Regions from separate parts of the Homo sapiens genome. Here regions 1 and 2 are each linked to region 3. Evidence: promoter capture Hi-C in human tissues and cell types (Jung and others, 2019). All regions are on one chromosome and are shown on one strand. The core of a region is centred on a gene start or on the middle of the fragment in contact, and the rest is flanking DNA. Distances in the headings are between cores, read along the strand shown. Region 1 has its middle 25 kb from the start of RECK. Region 2 overlaps TLN1 (talin 1). Region 3 holds the start of FAM221B (family with sequence similarity 221 member B).

Region 1 (4,453 bases), core at 1,725-4,224, 180 kb before region 3:
ATGGGGTTGAGAATGGGGGTCACCACTCCATAGAAAATGGAGATGAGTTTGTCTGCAAGGTCCTGTTTGTCTGCTCCCATTGGGTCCTTAGACTTGGGCTTCCCATACATGAAGAGGATCATCCCATAGAAGACGATCACGACAGTGAGGTGGGCAGAGCAGGTGGAGAAGGCCTTTTTCCTCCCCTCAGCTGAGGGGATTCTCAGGATGGTGGCAATGATGAAGACATATGAGACAAAAATAAACAGGACTGGGAGTGCAAGGAAGATCATGTTGGTCACAACCATGCTGATCACGTTGATGCAGATGTCAGCACAGGCCAACTTTAGAACTGCCAGGATCTCACAGGTGAAGTGATTGATGACATTGTCCCCACAGAAGGGCAGTCACATTGCTAGGGATATCTGTACTACAGAGTTGGTGATACCAGCTGCCCAGGAGCCAACAGCCATGGGCATGTAGGCAGCCTTGCTCATGACCACAGGGTACCTAAGGGGGTTGCACATGTCCAGGTAGTGATCAAAAGCCATCATGCTCAGGAGAACACACTCTGTGGCTCCCATGGCAAAGGAGAGGAACATCTGTACTGCACAGGCTGAGAAGGAGATGGTTTTCCTGGGGGTCAGGAAGCTGTCAAGGATGAGGAGGTTGTATAGCAGATGTCCAGGAAGGAGAGGTTCCCCAGGAAGAAGTACATGGGTGTGTGCAGGCGGGAGTCAAGGATGGTCACCAGGATGAGGACCCCGTTGCCCAGCAGGATCACCAGGTACACCAGCAGGATGAACACAAAGAATGTCTTCTCCAGCTATGGGTGGGCAGAGAGGCCCAGGAGAACGAACCCCAACACAGGGGAGGCCTCATTGGACCTGTTCATGGTGCATCTGCTCTGTCACCTGGAGGAACTCAGAGGTCAACCTCAGCATCCTCTTACTCCAAAAGTACCTGGAAGGCCAGGCACAAATCCTTGCCCTGCTGAGCAACTGGAGAATAGCGCTGATGATTTGTTCATCTCTATGGGGTTCTAGGAACAATGTAGTACAGGTCAATATTTAACTTCTGCTTCTGGTAAGAACAAACAGGCTAATTTGGACTAACTGTCTTGCAGATGACCATTAGACAAACTGGAAAAAATACATAAAACATTGGAGAAGTAATAAGACAATGAGGAACATAGGGTTATGACTCTGGGGAAAAACAAGGACCTAGAGATGTAAGTCTAGCACTTGTGGCTGTGATTCAACTCGAGCATTTGCAGCTTCTGGAGGGAGCCAGGGAGAGGCTGGGAAGCATTACTGACAGCCTCATGGAGATGGGGAGTAAGTTTTGTTGTGAAAGACTCACCTTGAAAGGCCCCTCACTAAATGTTCTCCTTTTGGGATGGACTCTCAAAGGGCAGCACCATAGGAATAAGGGCAAATCAGAAGGAAACAGACATTTACAGATGCTGTAGTTCAGCTTCAAATCTTCCCAAGCCCTGAAATCGAATTGAGGTGATACCAAGTTTTGATGCTCCCAAATGCCTCACAGAAGCCAACATAGATCCACTTTGGAGGAAGATAACATCACCCTAGTCTCTAAATCATTTCCACAAATAATTTTGCAAACACAACATCTGGCACACACTAAAAAAGAATAAGGCACACAAGGAGACAAGAAAACAAATCAAAACTAACAGAAAAAAAGCAACAACAGAAAATAAAGCGTCTCCTGGGGCATGTAGCAGCCAAGAGGACAGCTCTAGTGGCACCTGCCTAGACAGCAAGCCCCGGGCACCCCGACACATCCGGTGCCAAGGTCTCAACATTTGGTTGATCCTTTTGTACATCTGTGGCAGCAAGTAGGCCCCTGTGCCCCATGGCCAAGTTGAATGACAGTTCCAACTGAACCTCCCGTCTTCTCTTCATTCTCCATTGCCTGCGGCAAAGGCATTAACTTGTTCCTGAGACTGTTCACAGAACCCTGGGTCCTGCTCTGTTACTTTTTTATTTAATGGAAAGGTTAAATCTCTCTTGACAAAGATTCTCAGATTTTCCAAACTTTGGCCAGGCATCTGAACCTTCTTCTAGGTACATCTGTGTCCTTGCTTATAAAATTCAGTTTCAGCAAAAAGCCCTGCTAAGTCAGTTCAGCAAGAACCCCCCTCCTCAATATCTGGTCATCTTCAATGTTTGATGAGGTTCCTCATCCTCCACCATCCCCAGGTGATGTCTGATTACCCTGTCCTCTCTTCAGCAAGAATTCTGTTAGGTCCATTTAGCCAGAATCCCCGTTACCCCCGATGCTTCTTCTTAGTAATTTTCTATCTACCTACCTCCAGCCCCCTCCTTGGCTAAAAATTCCCACTTGTGCCTGCTGTATTTGGAGTTGAGCCCAATTTCTCTCCCTCACTGCAAAATCCCATGGCAGTGGTCCCTATACATGTTGAGATAGTCCTGAATAAAGTCTGCTTTGCCGTGCTTTAACAAGTACTGATGAATCATTGTTTCCTCAACACTCCTCAGACTTCGAAGTGCTTCTCAAACTATGATTTGTTCTGGACCAGTAAAAAACTTGTAGGCAACTGAGCACTACAGTTTTATTAGAACTGTATCTAAAATACTTACAAACTTCCCAGATATCTATCTTTCCAAGAGCTCTCAGTAATCCAACCCCCTCCTCTGTTGTTGCAGCGATGCTTCCTGCCTCACGAGCTCCGAGATACTCCTATGTTGGTGGTTAGCACATTATAGCTGTGACCAAGTCAGTGCCATAATAATTCAGGTCAGGTTAACAGATATTTGTTGAGCGTCTACTCTGGGCCAGGCATAATTCTAGGTGCTGGGAACAAAGAGCTCAAAATCTAGTGGGGAAATAGTCATGCAAACAAATGCTTTCATCATCATCATCATCATCAACCATAACAATTACTTGAATGCTAAGGACAACAGGTCTTAGGGTCTATTTAGTAATTGCCCCCTTTCTAATGCAGAAAGCCCCTTACCACATTCCTGATAGTCCTAGAACCTAGATTTGACTATCTGAGTGATGTGAGGTTCTTTATCTCCTGGTAAGGCTCACTTCATTTTGAAGTAGTTACCCTGTGATATTGAGCTGAAATCTGTCTCCTTGCAACTTCTACCTGGCCTTGTCTTCTGGAGCCCCTAAAGGCAGTTAATCTCTCTTACACACAACTGCCTAAATATCTAGAAATAGTATGGTTTCAGCACGAAGATAAATAAGAATAAATCTCCCTTTTTCTCTTAAGGTCTTAAAAAAGTAGATATATCTCTTAGAGGCAAATGTATCAACCAGGAGCTCGCTACAAAGGCTGACACTAAGAATGGTCCCCAAGCTTGAGGATGGCTGAGGTGCCCGAGACACGCTGCTGCTGGGATGTGTGTGTTGGGCAGTGTATCAGTCCCCAGCTGGGTTTCTCACTGTAGGCTGGCCAGCCAACTCTCAAGAACCTGCAGATCATATGAAGAAAATATTCCCTCTATGTCATCATTATCAGATTCAGAAACATGCTTATTATTATTGCCAGACTTTGTATCTAACTATGAAGTGAGAAAGAGCCCAACAGTTTTTATCAAGAAAGGACAACCAATCGTGAGAAGGACTACCAGCTGTATGGTCCCTGGCAAGCCCCCATTTCCTCAGCATGATGGCAGGGTGAGGCCAGATGATCTCAGACATTCTTGCAGGTTGAGGAGGTCTATTTGATTTTGTGAGAATAATATCATACCAATGAAACAGCTTCACATCTGCCCTCCTCAAGCCCCCATTCCATTACAATCAAGTCTGATGATAGAAATGTAACCATGCTGTTGATTAATGGGTGAAAATATATGGTTTGATCGAAGGAATAAGACCTAGTGTTCAATAGGTCAGGAGGGTGACTATAGTTTACAATAAGCTACTATACCTTTCAAGATGGCTAGAAGAGAATAATTCAAATATTTCTAGCATAAAGACAAATGTTTAAAGTCATGGATATCCCAACTACACTGACTTGATCCTTGCAGATTATATGAATGTATTAAATTATCACATGTACCTTAAAACCATGTATATCTATTATGTATCAATAATAGATATTATGTATCTATTATGTATATCTATTATGTATCAATTTATTTAAAAAATAAATATAGCCAATGCTAATGAAAATTGTGGAATTCCTTTCACCAAAACTTGCCCTTACTTTTATAAAAAAACATCATGAGCAAGAATGATCGATTTTCCAAGGTTTGGAAAGAGGCTACATGTCAGAAACAGTGACACTGGGTCTGAACGCCAGGGTGAGGGCTCAGGACATGTGACAGGTGAAGGGTCCTTTCTGCTTCTCCTGCCTCATGTGCTTGGGGCACAATCTCCAAAGGACTGGCCATCACCCTTAGAAGATAATTTAAATTGCAGTTTATTCTTTGGGACCATTGTAGACCCTGAAGTCATTTAAGGTTTGGAAAGTGAG
Region 2 (4,601 bases), core at 2,101-4,600, 130 kb after region 3:
ACAAGGCCATGCCAGCCAGGAGAAGCTCATCTCATCAGCCAAGCAGGTAGCTGCCTCCACAGCCCAGCTCCTTGTGGCCTGCAAGGTCAAGGCTGACCAGGACTCGGAGGCAATGAAACGACTTCAGGTGAGAACCCTGACCCATCCCATTGTCCCTTGGGCTATACTGCTTCAAACTGTCACTCCCGAGATGTATGTTTCTATGAGAGAATTGAGGTACTGTCTCAACTGGGACCGTACCTGAGTTCTCAACCTAGGCCACTTTCTCTCTGCCCAGGCTGCTGGCAACGCAGTGAAGCGAGCCTCAGATAATCTGGTGAAAGCAGCACAGAAGGCTGCAGCCTTTGAAGAGCAGGAGAATGAGACAGTGGTGGTGAAAGAGAAGATGGTTGGCGGCATTGCCCAGGTGAGCTTCACCCCAGATGCTGAGGGACGCTGTCAGGAGGGCAGTCATGTTGCCTGCGCTGGTCCCAACTACCCTATGCCCCTGCTGTGCATCCTCACTGAACTAAGTCCCCGATCTCCACCCTCAGATCATCGCAGCACAGGAAGAAATGCTTCGGAAGGAACGAGAGCTGGAAGAGGCGCGGAAGAAACTGGCCCAGATCCGGCAGCAGCAGTACAAGTTTCTGCCTTCAGAGCTTCGAGATGAGCACTAAAGAAGCCTCTTCTATTTAATGCAGACCCGGCCCAGAGACTGTGCGTGCCACTACCAAAGCCTTCTGGGCTGTCGGGGCCCAACCTGCCCAACCCCAGCACTCCCCAAAGTGCCTGCCAAACCCCAGGGCCTGGCCCCGCCCAGTCCCGCAGTACATCCCCTGTCCCCTCCCCAACCCCAAGTGCCTTCATGCCCTAGGGCCCCCCAAGTGCCTGCCCCTCCCCAGAGTATTAACGCTCCAAGAGTATTATTAACGCTGCTGTACCTCGATCTGAATCTGCCGGGGCCCCAGCCCACTCCACCCTGCCAGCAGCTTCCGGCCAGTCCCCACAGCCTCATCAGCTCTCTTCACCGTTTTTTGATACTATCTTCCCCCACCCCCAGCTACCCATAGGGGCTGCAGAGTTATAAGCCCCAAACAGGTCATGCTCCAATAAAAATGATTCTACCTACAACCTCTGCCTGGCTTCAAGGGAGATACAAGTTTTCTCCCAGGGCAGTAGGAGAGACAGTGGGGTTGAATTCTGTCACCCAGCTTGATCCAGCTTGAAATGGGAGAGGGGAAGACTGGCAGTCTGCACCTGAGGTCCCTTCCTCCTTGCACCCGGACCCTAAAGTTATCCAATGGGGAAGTTGTGCCTGAGAAGTCATACTCCTGTTATCCTCACCTCCCTGGCCAGCACCTAAGCCTCACAAAGTGTCGTTCTGCTGCTGCTGGGACAGCAGCTACCACAGTTCCTTGTGGCTACCAGGACATTCTGTTCTTCATAGCTACTCAGGGTATGTCAACAAATCCAGTCCTTGACCAAATTCAAATTTTCAAAAGAAGCTTTGCTAAAAATAATATGCCTGTAAGTGTCTGAGCCTAAGAGAACTATGGCCACAAAACTGATTGAAGCCATTAGCAAGCAGAAAAATCCCAACTTGAGGCTGCCTCGGGTAGGCACCGCTCTTGATTGGGTTGGGACACTCCTGCCTAGGGTAGCGCTAAAAGTGAAGAGCTTGACCCAGGTGTGAGAATTTATTGTTAGAGGGGGCAGAGCTCCCCTAGTGGCCAGGAAGGTGCTAGCAGCCCTGTTCCAGCCACCCTGCTTATCTGGTGGGTCAGTGGAAAGAGGCAGTCAGAGAGGTGGATGCTGTGTGCTTCCACGTCCCCATCCAGCCACTCTGTCCATAATGCATGGACTCTCTGACAGTCGTCTTAGGTTGGCAACTATTTTCATGCGTGATTCTTTAGTCAGCCCTACCGCCCAGTACATTATTTCCTCAAGTAGAACACAAACGCCACCCATCTGCTACTAACACCTTCTACTCCCACCACATTAGGGAAAGCTTGAAGTAGATGGAATGTAGCTGGTAACGGTGGTTCGAGCCTCTAATCCCAGCTACTTAAAAGGCTGAGGCAGGAGGACTGCTTGAGACCAGGAGTTCAAGGCTGCAGTGAGCTATGATGGTGCCACTGTGCACCAGCCTGGGTGACGGAGTGAGAGCCCTTCTCTAAGAAAGTAGATGGAACTCTAGGACAGCCCATTAGGGATGGTGCCAACCTCCTACCATCACTCCTATCACCTGTGATTCATTCATTCAATATTTACTAAGCCATGCTTGTGCTAAGCACTGGAAAATTGAGATGTATTATCACTTCTCTGACGCAGAGGACTGGCAACTCCAGTACATACTGTGGGGGCTCCCTAATCCCAGATTCAATGTCATAGTATCAGTTGAGGACCTTGGAGATCAAATCCCTTCTATAACCTCCCCGACAAGTGGCAGTCTAGACTTTGAACTCCAGCTAGGAGCCCAGGACAGCTGCTTACTCCTGTTACCATTTCCTTGTCATGTCCTCAGGAACTGGGACCAATCACATACTTCTCACTAGTGATACCTTGGGAGCCATCTGGGGAGAGGCTTTAAAACCTATTAAACCAGCAGCTCTTCAAATGTGGTCCTCAGACCCCTAGGGTTCCCTAAGACCTTTTCAGGGGTCCATAGGTCAAAATTATTTTCATAAAAATACCAAGACATTATTTTCCTTAGCTGGGGATGGTGGTGCACACCTGTAATTCCCAGCTACTTGGGAGGCTGAGGCACCAGAATTGCTTGAACCTGTGATGCGGAGGTTGCAGTGAGCCAAGATCACGCCACTGCACTCCAGCCTGGGCAACAGAGCAAGACTCAAAAAAAATGTCCTTGATGAAGTAAAAAAAAAAAATTTTTTTTTTTTTTTGAGACGGAGTCTCGGTCTGTAGCCCAGGCTGGAGTGTAGTGGCGTGATCTCGGCTCACTGCAACCTCCACCTCCTGTGTCCCGGTTCAAGCAATTCTCCTGCCTCAGCCTCCCGAGAAGCTGGGATTACAGGCACATGCCATCATGCCCAGCTAATTTTTGTATTTTTAGTAGAGACAGGGTTTCACCATGTTGGCCAGACTGGTCTTGAACTCCTGACCTCATGATCTGCCTGCCTCAGGCTCCCAAAGTGCTGGGATTACAGGCGTGAGCCACCACGCCCAGCCTAAATGTATTAATTTAATTAAACCTTAATCCTTAAGGAAAAGGCTTTTCAACATTCTGTCTGATAAAGTGGGAAGTATGCATAAGACATTTTGCATACCAAAGTATGATGGTTTTCTGGAGGAAATAACTTAGGCCATTCTTTGAGTTGTGAGCTGAACTAGCTGCTCTTTTATGGAATGCCACGTTTACTCAAAAGAATGGCCGACAAACTGTGGTTATCAGATTTAGGTAGCTGGCAGAACTTTTCTAAAAAGGAACAAAGTGAGTCTGTCACTTCAGGGAAAAATCTGACAGTGTTTGTTGCCAATGATATAATTCAAGCTTTCAAGTGAAAAATCGAATTTTGGAACACTTGTATTTGCTACATGAGCTTCACAGCTTCCCAAAATTTAAAACTTAAAGACTTTACTGTTCTCCAGTATAATACTATGAAGAAAAACAAAGACTTTACTGTTGAAACCTATTGTGATTTTTTTAAAATTTATTTATTTATTTATTTATTTATTTTTGAGACAGAGTCTCGCTCTGTTCCCCAGGCTGGAATGCAGTGGTGCAATCTCAGCTCACTGCAACTTCCACCTCCCAGGTTCAAGCAATTCTCCTGCCTCAGCCTCCTGAGTAGCTGGGACTACAGGCGCCCGCCACCACACCCAGCTAACTTTTTGTATTTTTAGTAGAGACAGGGTTTTGCCATGTTGCCCAGGCTGGTCTCGAACTCCTGAGCTCAGGCAATCCACCCACCTCGGCCTCCCAAAGTGCTGGGATTACAGGTATGAGCCACCGCACCTGGCCTGAAACCTATTGTGATTTTTAAAATAATGTATAATGAAACATTAATATTTGGAAGATTTGCATAGCTCAGTGAATCAATTATTTTCCATATGACGAATGCACGGTGTTACAAAATTATGCATGGGTAAAAGATCCAATCAGGTGCAGTTCAGAAAAACGGATTTTTTTTTTTTTTTTGAGACAGAGTCTTGCTCTGTCACCCAAGCTGGAGTGCAGTGGTGCAATCTCGGCTAACTGCAACCTTCGCCTCGCAGGTTCAAGTGATTCCCCTGCCTCAGCCTCCCGAGTGGCTGGGATTACAGGCGTGTGCCACCACCACACCTGACTAATTTTTGTAGTTTTAGTAGAGACGGGAGGGTTTCACCATGTTGGCCAGGCTGGTCTCGAACTCCTGACCTCAGGTGATCCACCCACCTTGGCGTCACAAAGTGCTGGGATTACAGGCGTGAGCCACCACACTTGGCCAAAACAACGGATTTTAGTTTAACAGTACAAAAAGGTCACTGATATGGTTTCACATTCTACATTGCAACTGCCCCTTAAGAAACTGCCAATTATCGGCCAGGCACAGTGGCTCAGGCCTGTAATTCCAGCACTTTGGGAGGCTGAGGCAGGAGGGTAGCTTGAGCCTAGGAGT
Region 3 (4,458 bases), core at 855-3,354:
TCTGTCCAAGTCACTTCCCCACCGGAGGGTGGCCCTTGGCTGACGCCTGGCAAATAAGGAACAGTTTGTGGATAAAGCACCCTTGTGGGCAGACCGGGGAGAAGGGAGGTTATGCTTTGAGCCTTTCCCCACTTGGGTCTATTTTTCTATTAAGTATACATTGCAGTGGATAAAAAAAAACACACTAGTATGAAATAGGAATTAGGAAACCTTTTTTCTAGCCCCAGCACACTGCCATTCACAAGCTCTCTGACTTTGGACAAATTGCTCCCTCCCTGAGCCTCAGTTTCCCCATCTGTAAAATAGCCTCCGAGTTTCAGCCCTGCTCTAAAAGTATCAGGAATTATTCCTAGGCAAATCAATCTTCTTTGGAACAAGAATCATTACAAGAAGAAAACTCATTATAATGGCAACTAATCCATATTCATCTATTTGCTACATATTATCTTTAAAACTCTTCTTCATGCCGTTTGAATGCATGCCCAATATCTCAAAGGTTTGGGCTATATATTCCCACACTACACTAGGGGCTTCTGGTGTGGGACTGTCTCTCCCCCATCAAACTTTGTGAGCAGGAGCAAAGCCCACAACATTTCCCTGGAAAAGCAAGAGTCAAAGTGGGGTCAGGACAGACACCAGAAAAAATCTTGGAGTCTCTGTGCTAGAAACTGTAAGCCACCTGCTGAGCCTCAAACCCAATTAATTACCACTCTTTTGACCCTGCCAATCCCTGTTGTGTAAGACCTCTCTACTCTCTATTTCTCCCACTTGCTCCCCAATGATCTAGTTCCCCAGGTCCCACCTCTCCTGAATCTCTCCAGCCCACCCCTCCCTGCCGGAACCCCATTCCTGCCTCAATCTTCCCTGCTTCTGCACTCACCAGCCCCTGGGCCAAGGACAGAGAACAGCAACAGCAGCAATAGGGCTGGCGGCAGCTGAAACCCAGACTTGAGTCTAGGCTGGGAGAGGGGCAGAGTATGAGAGATAGGGGGGACTAGAGGGAGAGACTTGGGTAAACACAGAGATGAGGGCAAAGGCTGAGATAATGGGTTGGGCTGGGCTGGACACTGGGGCTTGAACAAGGGCAGGGAGTGGGATGGAAGGAAGGGCTGTGATGGGGACTGCAGCAAGGGACGGGGTTGAGCCAGGGCCTTAAGCAAACACTGGGAATGGGGCTGGGACAGGGCCTGGGCTGGGATTTGTGACAGGGGGTGGAACGAGGGCCGAGGCCGGGATGGGGGCCAGGCCAGGGGCAGAGACTGGAAGGGGGTCCTGGATGGGGACCCAGGCAGGGGCTGGGGCCGATGTGGGAAGCGGGGCGAGGGCGGGGCTGGGGGCCAAGGCGGGGATTGGGATAGGACGAGGGGCCGGGACAAGGGCTGGGCCATGGCCCGGGGCGGGGGCGGGGCCGGACAGGCCAGCGCGGGGCGCTCGCAGAGCTGGCCCGCGGCTCCGCTCCCCACCCCCGGGGGGTGGCCTCCGGTGTCCTCGCGGGCCCGGGGCGGGGGCCGGGGACCTGGGTAGGAGTTCAGGCCTGGGCGACTCCGGGCTGCGCTGAACCGGCGATAACCAGGCCCCGCGGCGGCGGCCTCGACTTGACGTCGGCGTGACGCCCCGCCCCCCGGCCGGCTCGATTGGTCCCTGTCAGTAAAGCCCGCCCCCGCCCTACTCTATTGGTCCCCAACTTAGTCCTGCTGGGCTTCGAGGACACACAGACTCCGCCCCCGCCTCAGCTACCCGAGACCCTGCCTTTCTCACCCCAAGCACAGAGCCCGAGGTCCCCTCAGATCCTCACAGCCCCCAACGACCGCCCCACAGATGTCTCAAAGGAACCCTATCCTCACAATCCCAGACTCCCCCGGACGTACGCACAGATCTCCGCAGATCCTACCCAAACACTCGCTCACAGAGATCCCGCAACACACACCCCACTTTTCAGAAGTAAACCCTCTGGGCTCGCCCCCTCGAGGCCCAATGCAAGCCCCTCAGGAGACCTTACCCACCGGGGAGGTGACCAGACCGCCGTTGCCACGGAGACTACTAGGCGTTCCGGTTGCCCTGGTGACCGGCGCCTACTCTCCTGGCCCGGGTTCCGGAGGCTTCAGTCAAGACCCTCCCTCATTGGCCCTAGACCCCTTGTCCCTACCCACTTCCCCAGGTCATGCCAGAGCTCCTTTGCGAAGTTCTGCAGATATCCAAGTCCCCTTCCCAGATAGCAGACTTTCAGGCAAGGCATTTCAACACTCAGCACCTGCAGCTGAGGCACATCCACAACCAAGAGCCTTTCCTCCCTGAGGATCAACACCTCCCCCTGCCATCCTAAGTCAAGGTCTTGACCTAAGGACTTGTAACAACCAAGCCAAAGCCCAGAGGGTAGGTGGTTTCTCCAACGGCCCTTGCCCTCTTCCCTCAAAGACATCTGTCTTTCTCCCACCCCTCAGTCCCTTCACATTGTTGTAGTAGTAGTAGTAGTAGTAGTAGTAGTAGTAGTAGTAGTAGTAGTTGTTGTTGTTGTTGTTGTTGTTGTTGTTGTTGTTGTTGTTTGAGACAGAGTCTCGCTCTGTCCCCCAGGCTGGAGTGCAGTGGTGCGATCTGGGCTCACTGCAACCTCCGCCTCCCAGGTTCAAGTGATTTGCTTGCTTCAGCCTCCCCAGTAGCTGGGACTACAGGCGCCTGCCACCATGCCCAGCTAATTTTTGTATTTTTAGTAGAGACTGGGTTTCACCATGTTGGCCAGGCTGGTCTCGAACTCCTGACCTCAAGTGATCCACCCGCCTTGGCCTCCCAAATTCTGGGATTACTGGCATGAGCCACCATGCCTGGCCCACATTCTGTACTTTTCATCCTTACTCTCCTCCTCCACCCAATTTCCTCCTCCCCTTCTCTTTCCCCTTCCTCACCTCCCATCTTCTGGTTCTCCACTCTTAGGCCCCTTTTCTCTCTAGCTGACTCTGGTCATCTTCCTCCCTGTAATCCTACCTCTGCCCCTAATTCCCTTCCCAAACATCCCCTTCAAAAAGGCTCTGATGCATTTAAGGAGTGATATATCTAGCGTCTCTGGAACATGGGGGTAAAGTAGGGAGCACGGAAAGTTAAGGCAGGAATCCTCAGGCTGTGTTGAAAATGATGACAGGCCTTGAATGCCAGGGCCAAGAAATTTGGACTTAATCCTTTAGACTGAGTCATGGAATGTTTTTAAGCCACAAAGTGCCAGTTGTTGGGCTTGCACTTTAGAAAGATCCTGATTGGGTCAGGAAGGAGGACTACATCCTTGCAGGATAAATTAGGTATATCCCCCTCCCCACCGTATCCTAGACTCACCCCAGAACAACATCAATTTATTTGTATTGCCATTGTTGGTTAATCGGTCTCTCTCCTAGACTCAACTCAATCTAGAGCTTAGCACAGCGGGTCAGTAAAAGCATCAGATTAGGCTCATTGTAAAAGTATAAGTTACATAAATCCATGAAAGAATGGGTGAATGGATTAAAATGCTGTGGATGGAAGTAGAGGGGCAAAGTTATTACACAAAGGCTGAAGATGATGAGAACTTGAATAAAATTGGAAGGGAGAGGAGAGAATGCATTTGGGGAATATTTAGAAGATAGGAAATAGAGTTATTGGTGCCTATTTGAAGATGGAGTCTAAGGGAAAAGGAAAAGACTAGGATAATTCCCAAAGTTCAGTTTTGCTGTCTGTGGAAACACTCAGTTAGAAATGACCAGCAGGGGCCAAGCACGGTGGCTCACTCCTGTAATCTCAGCACTTTGGGAGGCCAAGCAGGGCAGATCACCTGAGGTCAGGAGTTCAAGACCAGCCTGACCAACATGGTGAAACCCCGTCTCTACTAAAAATATAAAACTTAGCCGGGCATGGTGGCACACGCCTGTAATTCCAGCTACTTGGGAGGCTGAGGCAGGAGAATCACTTGAACCCGGGAGGCGGAGGTTGCAGTGAACCGAGATTGCGCCACTGCACTCCAGTCTGGGCAACAGAGCGAGACTCCATCACAAAAAGAGAAGAGAAGAGAAGGCCAGCAGGCAGGTGGGTATGAGTGTGAAGTACAGAGGTTGAAAAAGGTCTGAGCTAGAAATGTGAATTTAGGAGTCATTGGTACACAACTGGAAGTAGTTAAAGCTTTGAACATGAATGACATCATTAAGGGAGGAGGATGTGTGTGGTGCCTAGACAAAACCAGGCTGCGTGCAGTGTCTTGCCTTATGTGACAGCATTCCCCTGCACTCTCAGGAGCCAACCCCAACTTTGGCTTGGTATTGCCAGTCTCTAGAACTCCATGGTCTGACCTCCAGGGTTTTAAGATATGCCAAGGACCCTGCTCTTGGACTGCCCAAGTGGTGTTGTTCAGACTCCCTCCTGGGACATGGTTCTCTGCTACCATCTACTGATGGGATTCGAACTACTTCAGTCTTTCAATCTTTAAGTTCCAGCTCCCTAACA

Evidence for each region. Contacts are between HindIII fragments. The study calls those that stand out against the background at their distance.
Region 1: a contact is called between a fragment that was not itself captured here and the fragment with the promoter of FAM221B in region 3, in 2 of the 25 tissues and cell types used here (adrenal gland and mesenchymal stem cells).
Region 2: a fragment that was not itself captured here is called in contact with the fragment with the promoter of FAM221B in region 3 in 1 of the 25 tissues and cell types used here (liver).

What each region holds. Positions count from the first base shown.
Region 1 is chr9:36,009,605-36,014,057 of GRCh38, reverse strand. It overlaps the pseudogene OR2S1P. Among named protein-coding and RNA genes, the nearest start is that of RECK, 25 kb to the left of the region's middle. The HindIII fragment of the contact is 7,446 bases long and covers 1-4,453 here.
Region 2 is chr9:35,693,849-35,698,449 of GRCh38, reverse strand. It overlaps TLN1 (talin 1), which reads left to right. Exons shown (of 57, transcript NM_006289.4): 55 at 1-127; 56 at 278-406; 57 at 534-1,502. The coding sequence ends at 659. Among named protein-coding and RNA genes, the nearest start is that of TPM2, 6.2 kb to the right of the region's middle. The HindIII fragment of the contact is 3,222 bases long and covers 1,740-4,601 here.
Region 3 is chr9:35,826,378-35,830,835 of GRCh38, reverse strand. It overlaps FAM221B (family with sequence similarity 221 member B), which reads left to right and starts at 2,104. Exons shown (of 7, transcript NM_001012446.4): 1 at 2,104-2,373. It overlaps TMEM8B (transmembrane protein 8B), which reads right to left and starts at 1,608. Exons shown (of 13, transcript NM_001042590.4): 1 at 881-1,608. The coding sequence starts at 1,388. RefSeq lists enhancers at 516-1,016, 4,380-4,458 and a silencer at 1,302-1,751. The HindIII fragment of the contact is 23,285 bases long and covers 1-4,458 here.